Regions from separate parts of the Homo sapiens genome. Here region 1 is linked to region 2. The links are contacts of gene promoters, found by promoter capture Hi-C in human tissues and cell types (Jung and others, 2019). All regions are on one chromosome and are shown on one strand. Each heading gives the region's core, a stretch centred on a gene start or on the middle of the fragment in contact. The rest is flanking DNA. Distances are from core to core; before and after follow the strand shown.

What was found. Contacts are between HindIII fragments. The study calls those that stand out against the background at their distance.
Region 1: a fragment that was not itself captured here is called in contact with the fragment with the promoter of FLG2 in region 2 in 4 of the 25 tissues and cell types used here (bladder, dorsolateral prefrontal cortex, spleen and 1 more).

The regions. Positions count from the first base shown.
Region 1 is chr1:152,305,733-152,311,820 of GRCh38, forward strand. It overlaps FLG (filaggrin), which reads right to left. Exons shown (of 3, transcript NM_002016.2): 3 at 1-6,088. All of the region lies in intron 3 of CCDST (cervical cancer associated DHX9 suppressive transcript), which reads left to right. Among named protein-coding and RNA genes, the nearest start is that of FLG, 16 kb to the right of the region's middle. The HindIII fragment of the contact is 3,198 bases long and covers 2,310-5,507 here.
Region 2 is chr1:152,355,946-152,362,635 of GRCh38, forward strand. FLG2 (filaggrin 2) reads right to left here and starts at 4,061. Exons shown (of 3, transcript NM_001014342.3): 1 at 4,011-4,061; 2 at 2,802-2,961; 3 at 1-1,702. The coding sequence starts at 2,939. The region is part of intron 7 of CCDST (cervical cancer associated DHX9 suppressive transcript); the gene reads left to right. The HindIII fragment of the contact is 6,746 bases long and covers 1,305-6,690 here.

The DNA.
Region 1 (6,088 bases), core at 2,659-5,158, 50 kb before region 2:
CCGGCCACGTGCGGACTCTTGGTGGCTCTGCTGATGGGACCCAGCCTGTCCGTGGGCTGACACTGACTGTGTGTCTGAGTCTTCTGAATGTCCCTCATTGTCACTGGCCTGACTACCACTGTACCCTCGGTGTCCACTGTCTCTGACTGCAGATGAAGCTTGTCCGTGCCCAATGCCTGAGTGTCTGGAGCTGTCTGCTGACTGCTGGTGGTGGGATCCATGTCTTTCTCCTGCACTTGATCTTGCCTGTTCATGGGATGATGCAGCCTGTCCACCAGAGGAAGTCTGTGTGTGACGAGTGCCTGATTGTCTGGAGCTGTCTGCAGAGTGCCCATGACCAGCTCTGTCTTCTTGATGGGACCTGGGGTGTCTGGAGCCATCTCTTAGCTGCTCCTGAGCAGATCCATGATGGTTTCTGGAAGCAGACCCAGACCACCTCTCAGAGTCTTCTGAATGTCCCTCACTGTCACTGTCCTGGCTCACACTGGATCCCTGGCGCCTGCTTCTCCTGGACCCCTCTGATTGTCCCTGGACTGCCTGTGAGTGTCTAGAGATGTCGGCATGAGTGGAAGCTTCATGGTGACGCGACCCTGAGTGCCTGGAGCCGTCTCCTGATTGTTCCTCATTACGTGTTGTTCTGCTTGCACTTCTGGATCCTGACTGCCCACGGGAGGCATCAGACCTTCCCTGGGATGTGGTGTGGCTGTGATGGGACCCTGAGTGTCCAGAGCTATCTACCGAATGCTCGTGGTGGTACCCCTGCCTTCCTCCTCTGCTTGACCCCGGGTGTCCACGAATGGTGTCCTGACCGTCTTGGGATGCTGAGTGCCTGGAGCTGTCTTGTGCCTGCTCATGGCGGGATCCTTGTCTTCCTCTAGTGCTGGGCCCCGTCCATCCATGGGAGGACTCAGACTGTTCATGAGTGCTCACCTGGTAGAGGAAAGATCCTGAATGTCCAGACGTTTCCCCTGACCGGCCACGTGCGGACTCTTGGTGGCTCTGCTGATGGGACCCAGCCTGTCCGTGGGCTGACACTGACTGTGTGTCTGAGTCTTCTGAATGTCCCTCATTGTCACTGGCCTGACTACCACTGTACCCTCGGTGTCCACTGTCTCTGACTGCAGATGAAGCTTGTCCGTGCCCAATGCCTGAGTGTCTGGAGCTGTCTGCTGACTGCTGGTGGTGGGATCCATGTCTTTCTCCTGCACTTGATCTTGCCTGTTCATGGGATGATGCAGCCTGTCCACCAGAGGAAGTCTGTGTGTGACGAGTGCCTGATTGTCTGGAGCTGTCTGCAGAGTGCCCATGACCAGCTCTGTCTTCTTGATGGGACCTGGGGTGTCTGGAGCCATCTCTTAGCTGCTCCTGAGCAGATCCATGATGGTTTCTGGAAGCAGACCCAGACCACCTCTCAGAGTCTTCTGAGTGTCCCTGACTGTCACTGTCCTGGCTAAAACTGGATCCCCAGTTCCTGCTTGTCCTGGGCCCCTCTGATTGTCCCTGGCCCACCTGCGAGTGTCCAGAGCTGTCGGCCCGAGAGGAAGCTTCATGGTGACGCGACCCTGAGTGCCTGGAGCCGTCTCCTGATTGTTCATCGTTACGAGTTTGTCTGCTTGCACTTCTGGATCCTGAGTGCCCATGGGAGGCATCAGACCTTCCCTGGGATGTGGTGTGGCTGTGATGAGACCCTGAGTGTCCAGATCTATCTACCAATTGCTCGTAGTGGGATCCCTGCCTTCCTCCACTGCTTGACCCCGGGTGTCCATGAATGGTGTCCTGACCCTCTTGGGACGTTGAGTGCCTGGAGCTGTCTCGTGCCTGCTTGTGGTGGGATCCTTGTCTTCCTCCAGTGCTGGTCCCGGTCCGTCCATGGGCGGACTCAGACTGTTCATGAGTGCTCACCTGGTAGAGGAAAGACCCTGAACGTCCAGACCTTCCTGCTGACCGGCCACGTGTGGACTCTTGGTGGCTCTGCTGATGGGGCCCAGCCTGTCCGTGGGCTGACACTGACTGTGTGTCTGAGTCTTCTGAATGTCCCTCACTGTCACTGGCCTGACTACCACTGGACCCTCGGTGTCCACTGTCTCTGACTGCAGATGAAGCTTGTCCGTGCCCAATGCCTGAGTGTCTGGAGCTGTCTGCTGACTGCTGGTGGTGGGATCCGTGTCTCTCTCCTGCACTTGATCTTGCCTGTTCATGGGATGATGCAGCCTGTCCACCAGAGGAATTCTCTGCATGATGAGTGCCTGATTGTCTGGAGCTCTCTGCAGAGTGCCCATGACCGGCTCTGTCTTCGTGATGGGACCTGGGGTGTCTGGAGCCATCTCTTGACTGCTCCTGAGCAGATCCATGATGGTTTCTGGACGCAGACCCAGACCGCCTCTCAGAATCTTCTGAGTGTCCCTCACTGTCACTGTCCTGGCTAACACTGGATCCCCGGGGCCTGCTTGTCCTGGGCCCTGATGATTGTCCCTGGCCCACCAGTGAGTGTCTAGAGCTGTCGGCCCAAGAGGAAGCTTCATGATGATGCGACCCTGAGTGCCTAGAGCCATCTCCTGATTGTTCCTTGTCATATGTTTTTCTGCTTGCACTTCTGGATCCTGACTGCCCACGGGAGGCATCAGACCTTCCCTGGGATGTGGTGTGGCTGTGATGAGACCCTGAGTGTCCAGACCTATCTACCGATTGCTCTTGGTGGGACCCCTGTCTTCCTCCTCTGCTTGGCCCCGGGTGTCCACGAATGGTGTCCTGACCCTCTTGGGATGCTGAGTGCCTGGAGCTGTCTTGTGCCTGATCATAATGGGATCCTTGTCTTCCTCCAGTGCTGGGCGCAGACTGTCCATGGGTGGACTCAGACTGTTCATGAGTGCTCACCTGGTAGAGGAAAGACCCTGAACGTCCAGAGCTTTCCCCTGACTGGCCACGTGCGGACTCTTTGTGGCTCTGCTGATGGGGCCCAGCTTTTCCCTGTGCTGACACTGACTGTGTGTCTGAGTCTTCTGAATGTCCCTCACTGTCACTGGCCTGACTACCACTGTACCCTCGGTGTCCACTGTCTCTGACTGCAGATGAAGCTTGTCCATGCCCAATGCCTGAGTGTCTGGAGCTGTCTGCTGACTGGAGCTGGTGGTGGGATCCATGTCTTTCTCCTGCACTTGATCTTGCCTGTTCATGGGATGACGCAGCCTGTCCACGAGAGGAAGACTCTGTGTGACGAGTGCCTGATTGTCTGGAGCTGTCTGCAGAGTGCCCGTGACCGGCTCTGTCTTCGTGATGGGACCCAGGGTGTCTGGAGCCATCTCTTGACTGCTCCCAAGCAGATCCAAGATGGTTTCTGGAAGCAGACCCAGACCACCTCTCAGAGTCTTCTGAGTGTCCCTGACTGTCACTGTCCTGGCTAACACTGGATCCCTGGTTCCTGCTTGTCCTGGGCCCTGATGATTGTCCCTGGCCCACCTGCGAGTGTCTAGAGCTGTCGGCCCGAGAGGAAGCTTCATGGTGACGCGACCCTGAGTGCCTGGAGCCGTCTCCTGATTGTTTCTCATTACGTGTTTGTCTGCTGACACTTCTGGATCCTGACTGCCCACGGGAGACATCAGACCTTTCCTGGGACGTGGTGTGGCTGTGATGAGACCCTGAGTGTCCAGAACTATCTACCGATTGCTCATAGTGGGATCCCTGCCTTCCTCCTCTGCTTGACCCTGGGTGTCCACGAATGGTGTCCTGACCCTCTTGGGACGCTGAGTGCCTGGAGCTGTCTCGTGCCTGCTCGTGGCGGGATCTTTGTCTTCCTCCAGTGCTGGGCCCTGTGCGTCCATGGGCGGACTCAGACTGTTCATGAGTGCTCACCTGGTAGAGGAAAGACCCTGAACGTCCAGACCTTTCCCCTGACTGGCCACGTGTGGACTCTTGGTGGCTCTGCTGATGGGGCCCAGCCTGTCCGTGGGCTGACACTGACTGTGTGTCTGACTCTTCTGAGTGTCCCTCGCTGTCACTGGCCTGGCTACCACTGGACCCTCGGTTTCCACTGTCTCCGACTACAGATGAATCTTGTCTGCGCCCAGTGCCTGAGTCTGTGGAGCTGTCTGCTGACTGCTGGTGGCGGGATCCATGTCTTTCTCCTGGACTTGACCTTGCCTGTTCCTGGGATGATGCAGCCTGTCCACCAGAGGAAGTCTCTGCATGACGAGTGCCTGATTGTCTGGAGCTCTCTGCAGAGTGCCCATGACTGGCTCTATCTTCTTGATGGGACCTGGGGTTCCTGGAGCCATGTCTTGACTGCTCCCGAGCAGATCCATAATGGTTTCTGGAAGCCGACTCAGACCGCCTCTCAGAGTCTTCTGAGTGTCCCTCACTGTCCCTGTCCTGACTAACACTGGATCCCTGGCGCCTGCTTGTCTTGGACCCCGCTGATTCTCCCTGGCCCACCTGTGAGTGTCTAGAGCTGCCGGCCCGAGTGGAAGGTTCATGGTGACGTGACCCTGAGTGCCTGGAGCCGTCTCCTGATTGTTCCTCATTTCTTGTTTGCCTGCTTGCACTTCTGGGTCCTGACTGCCCATGGGAGGCATCAGACCTTCCCTGGGGTGTGGTGTGGCTGTGATGGTACCCTGAGTGTCCAGACCTATCTACTGATTGCTCGTGGTAGGATCCCTGCCTTCCTCCTCTGCTTGACCCCGGGTGTCCACGAATGGTGTCCTGACCGTCTTGGGATGCTGAGTGCCTAGAGCTGTTTCGTGCCTGCTCATGGCGGGATCCTTGTCTTCCTCCAGTGCTGGGTGCAGTCTGTCCGTGTGTGGACTCAGACTGTTCATGAGAGCTCACCTGGTAGAGGAAAGACCTTGAACGTCCAGAGCTTTCCCCTGACTGGCCACGTGCGGACTCTTTGTGGCTCTGCTGATGGGGCCCAGCTTGTCCGTGGGCTGACACTGACTGTGTGTCTGAGTCTTCTGAATGTCCCTCACTGTTAGTGACCTGACTACCACTGGACCCTCGGTGTCCACTGTCTCTGACTGCAGATGAAGCTTGTCTGTGCCCAATGCCTGAGTGTCTGGAGCTGTCTGCTGACTGCTGGTGGCGGGATCCATGTCTTTCTCCTGGACTTGATCTTGCCTGTTCATGGGATGACACAGCCTGTCCATGAGAGGAAGACTCTGTGTGATGAGTGCCTGATTGTCTGGAGCTGTCTGCAGAGTGCCCGTGACTGGCTCTGTCTTCTTGATGGAACCCAGGGTGTCTGGAGCCATCTCTTGACTGCTCCCGAGAAGATCCATGATGGTTTCTGGAAGCAGACCCAGACAACCTCTCGGAGTCGTCTGAGTGTCTCTCACTGTCACTGTCCTGGCTAACACTGGATCCCTGGTGCCTGCTTGTCCTGGACCCCGATGATTGTTCCTGTCCCACCTGTGAGTGTCTAGAGCTGTCAGCCCAAGAGGCAGCTTCATGGTGACGTGACCCTGAGTGCCTGGAGCCGTCTCCTGATTGTTTGTCCTTACGAGTTTGTCTGCTTGCACTTCTGGATCCTGACTGCCCATGGGAGGCATCAGACCTTCCCTGGGATGTGGTGTGGCTGTGATGGGACCCTGAGTGTCCAGATCTATCTACCGATTGCTCATGGTGGGATCCCTGCCTTCCTCCTCTCCTTGACCCCGGGTGTGCACGAATGGTGTCCTGACCCTCTTGGGACGCTGAGTGCCTGGAGCTGTCTCGTGCCTGCTCGTGGTGGGATCCTTGTCTTCGTCCAGTGCTGGTCCTGGTCCGCCCATGGGCAGACTCAGACTGTTCATGAGTGCTCACCTGGTAGATGAAAGACCCTGAACGTCCAGACCTTCCCCCTGACCAGTCACGTGCGGACTCTTGGTGGCTCTGCTGATGGGGCCCATCCTGTCCATGGCCTGACACTGACTGTGTGTCTGACTCCTCTGAATGTCCCTCACTATCACTGGCCTGACTACCACTGGACCCCCAGTGTCCACTGTCTCTGACTGCAGATGAAGCTTGTCTGCGCGGAATGCCTGAGTGTCTGGAGCTGTCTGCTGACTGCTGGTGGCGGGATCCGTGTCTTTCTCCTGGACTTGATCTTGCCTGTTCA
Region 2 (6,690 bases), core at 2,811-5,310:
CTGATCTAGACTCATGTTGTCCAAAGCCAGAGGATTGTCCTGAGCCAGACCCATGTTGTCCAAAGCCAGAGGACTGACCTGAGCCCGATCCATATTGGCCAAAGCCAGTGGATTGACCTGAGCCCAACCCATGTTGTCCAAAGCCAGATGTCTCTCTAGACCCATATTGGCCATAGCCAGATGATTGACTTGAGCCAGAACCATGTTGGCCATAGCTAGACTGACGTGATCTAGACTCATGTTGTCCAAAACCAGAGGATTGTCCTGAGACAGACCCATGCTGTCCAAAACCAGAGGATTGTCCTGAGACAGACCCATGCTGTCCAAAGCCAGAGGACTGACCTGAGCCTGACCCACATTGTCCAAAGCCAGAGGACTGACCTGAGCCAGACCCATGTTGTCCAAAGCCAGATGTCTTACCTGAGCTAGACCCATGCTGGTCATAGCCCAAGGATTGACTTGATGTAGACTCATGCTGGCCACAAGTTTGACCTGAGCCACATACATGTTGTTCGAACCCAGAGGACTGACTCAAGCCTGTTCCATGTTGTTCAAAGCTAGTAGACTGACTTGAACCAGACCCATATTGATCACATTTGGAAAATTCATTTGAACTAGAAGAGTTTGAAAAGCGGCCACAGGAACCATATTCATGTTGACCATTACTACAAGACTGGCTACCTCCAGACCCATATTGTCCACAGCAAGAGGACTGACTTGAGCCTGTTCTCCATTGTCCTCCACAGTTCTGTGGTTGACCATTTTCTCTAGCTCCATATCCTCTCTGACTATAGGACTGACTACAGGGGTTAGACTCAGGTTGACCACATCCAGAGGGCTGACCTCCTGAGACACAGCCATGGCCTTGTCCTCCCTTAATTCCTGACTGACAGCCTGACTGAATATAGCTAAATTGATTTCCTTGCCCTCCAAATCTATGTGACTGACAAGAACTTGAAGCATTTTGTGGCCTTCCACACCCACTTGAATTGCTATAACCACATGCATGACTTCGCCTCCCACTGTCTCCTGAACCTGAACAGCTAGACCCAAGCTTTTGTTCTCTAATTCTTGACTGAGTAGAGTTTGATTCATGCCCACTAGTCTCCAATCCACATGACAGACCACCATGACCTTTCCTTTCCCAACTGTTTGATCCAGATCCAGATTCATACTCCTCCCCAGATTCCCTAGAAGGGCTAATGTGTGACTTGTTTATTCTTTCTCTCAGTTCTACAGAGCTGGAACCATGTCTGTCTTTGCCACCACTCCATGAATGACCACAGCTGGACCTGTGGTATCTTTTCTGAGATCCCTCTTGGTTCCCAGAGCTGGATAAATTACCTTGTCTTCCTAGCCTCCTGGAGTTGGACCCATGTCTACATTTCACAGTTCCCCTTGAGTGCCCAGAACTATATCCATGCTCCTCTCCCTCACTCCAACTTGAATGTCTGTAACCTGATTTATGTCCTGGTGTATCCTCTTCATCCTCTTCTGTTTCACTTTCTTCTTCTTGGTGTCGGTGACCACGCCTATGCTTCTTTGACCCTGAAGCTTTGCAGTATTCTTTGCTGAGGACCTTGTTGCAGGCCATAGTCAGCTTGAATATCATCAAAAGAAACTCAGTAAAGTCCAATCTTCTGTCATGATCTCGATCCAGCATATGCATGATGACATCCACTGTGTCTGGATCATCTGGGTTCTGTATATGAGTGACACACCAAGGGAGACCTGGTCAGCCTAACCTGCATACTCAACTAACACATTTAAATAGCGCTGTGAAATTATGGATGTTTGACATGATGTAGTTTTAGTCCAATAAAGGATTACTTTAGGTTAATAGAACCCAGTAAATGTTAAGGGTTAATAGAAAATAAAGACTACTGGGATCCTCAGAAGAAGACATTTCAAGGATTTAGGCTAAAGGATTAAGTGCTTAGGTAAGGCCTACAGGAAGGAGTGGAATAAACTAAGTTCAGTAACTGGTATTTCTAAGTTTTACATAAATTGTAACTATTACATGTTAATATCTTCCATGTTGGAATTTATCATCTATTATTTTGAAGTTAATAACTGAGTCTTTTTTTTTTTTTTGAGATGGAGTCTTGCTCTGTAGCCCAGGCTGGAGTGCAGTGGTGCGATCTCTGCTCACTGCAAGCTCTGCCTCCCAGGTTCACGCCATTCTCCTGCCTCAGCCTCCCGAGTAGCTGGGACTACAGGGGCATGCAACCACGCCCGGCTAATTTTTTGTATTTTTAGTAGAGATGGGGTTTCACCGTATTAGCCAGGATGGTCTTGATCTCCTTACCTTGTGATTCACCCACTTCGGCCTCCCAAAGTGCTGGGATTACAGGCATGAGCCACCGCGCCTAGCTGAGTCCTTTTTAAGTAGATGGAATAAAATGCTGGCATTTTATTTTTGATTCTTAATCATGGCTATTTTGTCAACTCCCTATGTAGATGATTTCCCTTTCTATACTTTTTTTTCCATTTGATAGGATAATTTATTAATTCGTGTCCTAGTATAATTTTATTTTCTGCTTTTTCTAAGGAAAAGCCTGGGTGTATGAGAAAGTCTGAGAGTCTATGAGGTAGGAGTGCATAGGTGGAAAAGTGAGGACGAAACATTCACTTTCTTTAAAATATCTGCTGCTTTAACAGACTTTCTGGCATCCCCAAAATACCACTCATAGAGTTTGCTTAGAGTTCACTGGGGCTGTGCACTTTTTAGCTGATCTGGGTCATACAACAGAGCTTGTACAGGACTCCAGCAGCCTTCAGTTCTGGCACATGGCTCTCACCTTCAGAACTGGATGAAGCTCTTTCTCCAGAAGTTCCTTTAGTTCACCCTTGCTCAGTGTGCCACACTCCCCATCTTGCTTGGTGTATTTGTAGAAAACATCAATTACGGTGACAACACTTCTCAAGAGGTCGGTCATCTTTTTGCAAGTTTAAGTGAACCTGGACACAGAAAAACAAAGAACCCTATTATTCATATTCTCTCCTTTTATCAGCAATTTTCATTTTAATAATAACCAGCATGATTTTTTTAACCTCTTGTTTTTTAAATCTCAAAACGTAAGAATGGGCCAGGGATGATACAACCCCGTTTAACACAATGAAAATTAACTTTGTTAACTTTGAGTTACTTTTCTGTGATCAAGTCTTGGCATGTTACTGGTTCAACTGAGAATAGACCTCAAGTCTCTATATTTCCTGTCATGGGTAAGTATAGTCTCTACATAGTATCTCTACACTTTGAGTGTGTTGGCATTCTGGGTGTTGTTCTAAGGCTTCCAAAATTTCCAGAACCAGCCAGACACCATTGCCTCAATCTCTCTTTCTAGTTTCACTGCTTTTCTTGAGTCAAAAGTGACAGACCTTCCACCATGCACATCTGTTTATCCTCTGGGCACCAGAAGCTAAACTGGACCCTTAAGGCCTTCAGCAAATTAAAAATGGGCAAAGGGGCTCAAAATAGCTTGGTGTTTCATAGGCATGAGACAGTAGAACTCAGTAGAGCTTAGGAACTCTCTTAATGTCAAGCACTTGACCAAACACTGTTTTCTTTAATTAATCAAGAAGAAGAGCTCAGCAATGCAGGCAGCAGTTTAACTAGTGGATAATTAGATCTTGGAGCTCTGGGAACCAACACTGAATAAGGAAGGGACTCTGCAACAGACCCAGCTGCCTCCCAGTTTGAGCTGGACAGCCCAGAAAAGAGGGCATGGAAAAAGACTCGGAACAGACTGTGGAATGGCCTAGAGGAAGGTGAACTTTTACTTGCATTATTCTTCTCCATAAAAATGAACTTAACTACAAAAAGGCCCCAGAATAAACTAAACTAACCAAACAAATAAGCAAACAAAAAGAAAAGAAAATGAAAGAAAGAAACAAAAAAGAAAAGAAAGGCAAAATATACATGAACTCTGCCTTAGCTTATATCCCTAGACTTCTACTATGGACAACACCAAATATTCATAAATGTAGCTGGATGAATTTTCTCTCACCTGGTTCACCAAAGGAACAAGTAGGATAAAGCCTGATGCAGCTTGCAGGGTGACGATGGATTGGGATAATGACCCTTATATAGCTTATAGTGATTATAGTGAATGAGGTGATTCATTTTCCATCAAACCTAACTCCACCTCTACATATTTACCTTCCTCCTTCACATTGTTATCTACAGATGATTGCAGAAAGGCTAGTACCAGCCCCACCTTCCAGTACGAGGACATGGTTGCAAGATACCTTTTTTTTCAGGGTCATATACATGTGAAAAGCACAGACTTTGTTTTAGAGGACTCATGTTATACATTTCTTTTAACTAGTACCCACAGAAAGTAGCAGAGTGTAAGATACTTGGAAGGTGCACAATAAATGCTTATTTAATTGAAAATGAACCTGAGCCACTAGGTTCATCTAATTCATGTCTTTTTTGTAATAATAAAAAGTGACATTTATTGAGAATTTACTATGTGCTAAATACTTTAAACAAACCATCTCAATCTTTAAAAAATCTGCACTTTTAGTTATGGGTACATAGTTGTATATAATTGTTGGGTACATGTGATGTTTTGATATGGGCATACCATGTGTAATGATCAAATTACAGTAATTGGGGTATCCAGCACCTCAAGCATTTCTTTGTAGTAGGAACATTCTAATTCTACTATTTTAGTTATTTAAAAATATACAATAAATAGTTAACTATAGTTACCATATTATGTTACCAAATACTAGATCTTATCACCTCATTTAATCTTCACAACCTTCATACGAGATATGTATTTATTATCCCATTTTATAGAGACAGGTTCTGGAAGCATAAGGATCTTCTCCAAGGTCATAGCTAGTAGGCAGAGAAACCAGAAGTTGAACCTGTATCTACCTTATTGCAATTGCTGTTTACCATTATACTAACTTACCTCTGTGTATTTATCATATATAACTATCATGCAAAAATTATGCACCATTTTAGGAGTGTAAGGCCCACTCAAACGCAAATAATATAAAAAAGTAACATACAGAGTGCTGTTAGGAAGAGAGGAAACATTCTCTGACCTTGTGAAGGCTCATTTCTAGGCTAGAAAAGTGTAATTGGCTATATATAAAAATAATGTTTTCAGATATGTTCAGGGTGAATTTAGAGTGAGCTTTCTTCCAGCACTCTGCGATCCACTGGTAGTCTGGCATGTTTAGGGCCTGGACCCTTGGGAAAATGTTCACTTATGTACAGAAAGTATATCAAATACACTTGAGGGTAACAAAAATAATCAGAGAGCTGTAAGTCTTAAGCATGGAGAGCCAATTCTGCTGTACTTTGCTACCAGGTGATAATGATGATGATGAGGAGGATAGCAGCTACCATTAAGTGCTAAGTGCTTACTATCTTCTATACATGGTAGGTTTACATGCTTATCTATTTATTCCTCAAAATAACCCCATTTTATAGATAAGGTAATAAAAGCATAGAGCAATGTAAACATTTGTTACAAATCGCAGCTAGTTAGTAGCAGCACTAGAACAGATACACATGCTAGCCGATGCTAAAGCCTAGCACTTAACCATATATATTCTACATATATGGAGTCAATAAACTCCTATCTGGGCATTGCTTTGGGCCAGTCATCATATCTTATTCATTCCACCATCTAGGCAGCACCTAGAGCTTGGTAAACACTAAGAATGAGTGTCTGTTCATAAAATGTTAATGAATAGGCCCTTGAAATATGTCAATTGCTCACATAGCCAAGGAATCCTAGACCAAAACAACCACACAGAAAGTTATGGTTGCTGTTGGATACTATGGTCATTTTCAATCATATGCATCTTTTGGAAGTGCATTTTTGTTAAGATGGCTGCTGTGTCAGAAAGACTTTCAGGCCCCAGACTCCACACTGAGACAGAATTTTAAAGCATTTTTGCACTGTCACTCCAGCATTATAGTTGAGAACTCTGAAACTCCTCCATAGTTCAGAACTCCATTATTCAGTCTTTTGTATTCTTTGCATTTAGGTCTCTCTTCCTCTTCTACTTGCTTAGCATAATGGATAAAATTATAGTCAGAAAGACCTAAGTTCTAATCTCAATTTTGCCTCTTACTGCATTTCTTGTACAATTATCTAATCTTCTCAGCCTCAGTCTCCCAAATTATAGAATGGGAACAATAACACTTACCTAACAGGTGGCAATTACTTAACATATGAAATTGCTTAGTACCTGCCTGGCATATAATACATTCTTAGTACACTATATAATTACTGCAAACTTATTTTGATAAATATTTCATACAATCTATCACAGCATTTTACACAAAGAAAGTACTTGATAATGTTTGATAAAAATGAGTTAGAAGCCACTTACTAGTGGCTTTTAAAGGTAGAAATACTACACCTCTGTCAAAAGCATTGCCTAGAAGGTAAGTCATGGTTCTGAAAATAAACCACCTTTTTTGGGATATAATTCACATATCATAAATTTCAACCTTTTAATCTGTTTTGTGTTTGCCCCCAGAATACTGTGCTGGCAGTGAGCTGCACTTTTTTTCCCTAATTGGGAAATGGGTTAAAGTATACAGTTCGTTGTGTGTGTGTGTGTGTGTACAGAGTATGTGCAATTGAGTTATTGTTCTTATGATGTCTATGTCCTTAAGTGAGTTTCCTCACTTCTTAATGCCTTAGTTTACCC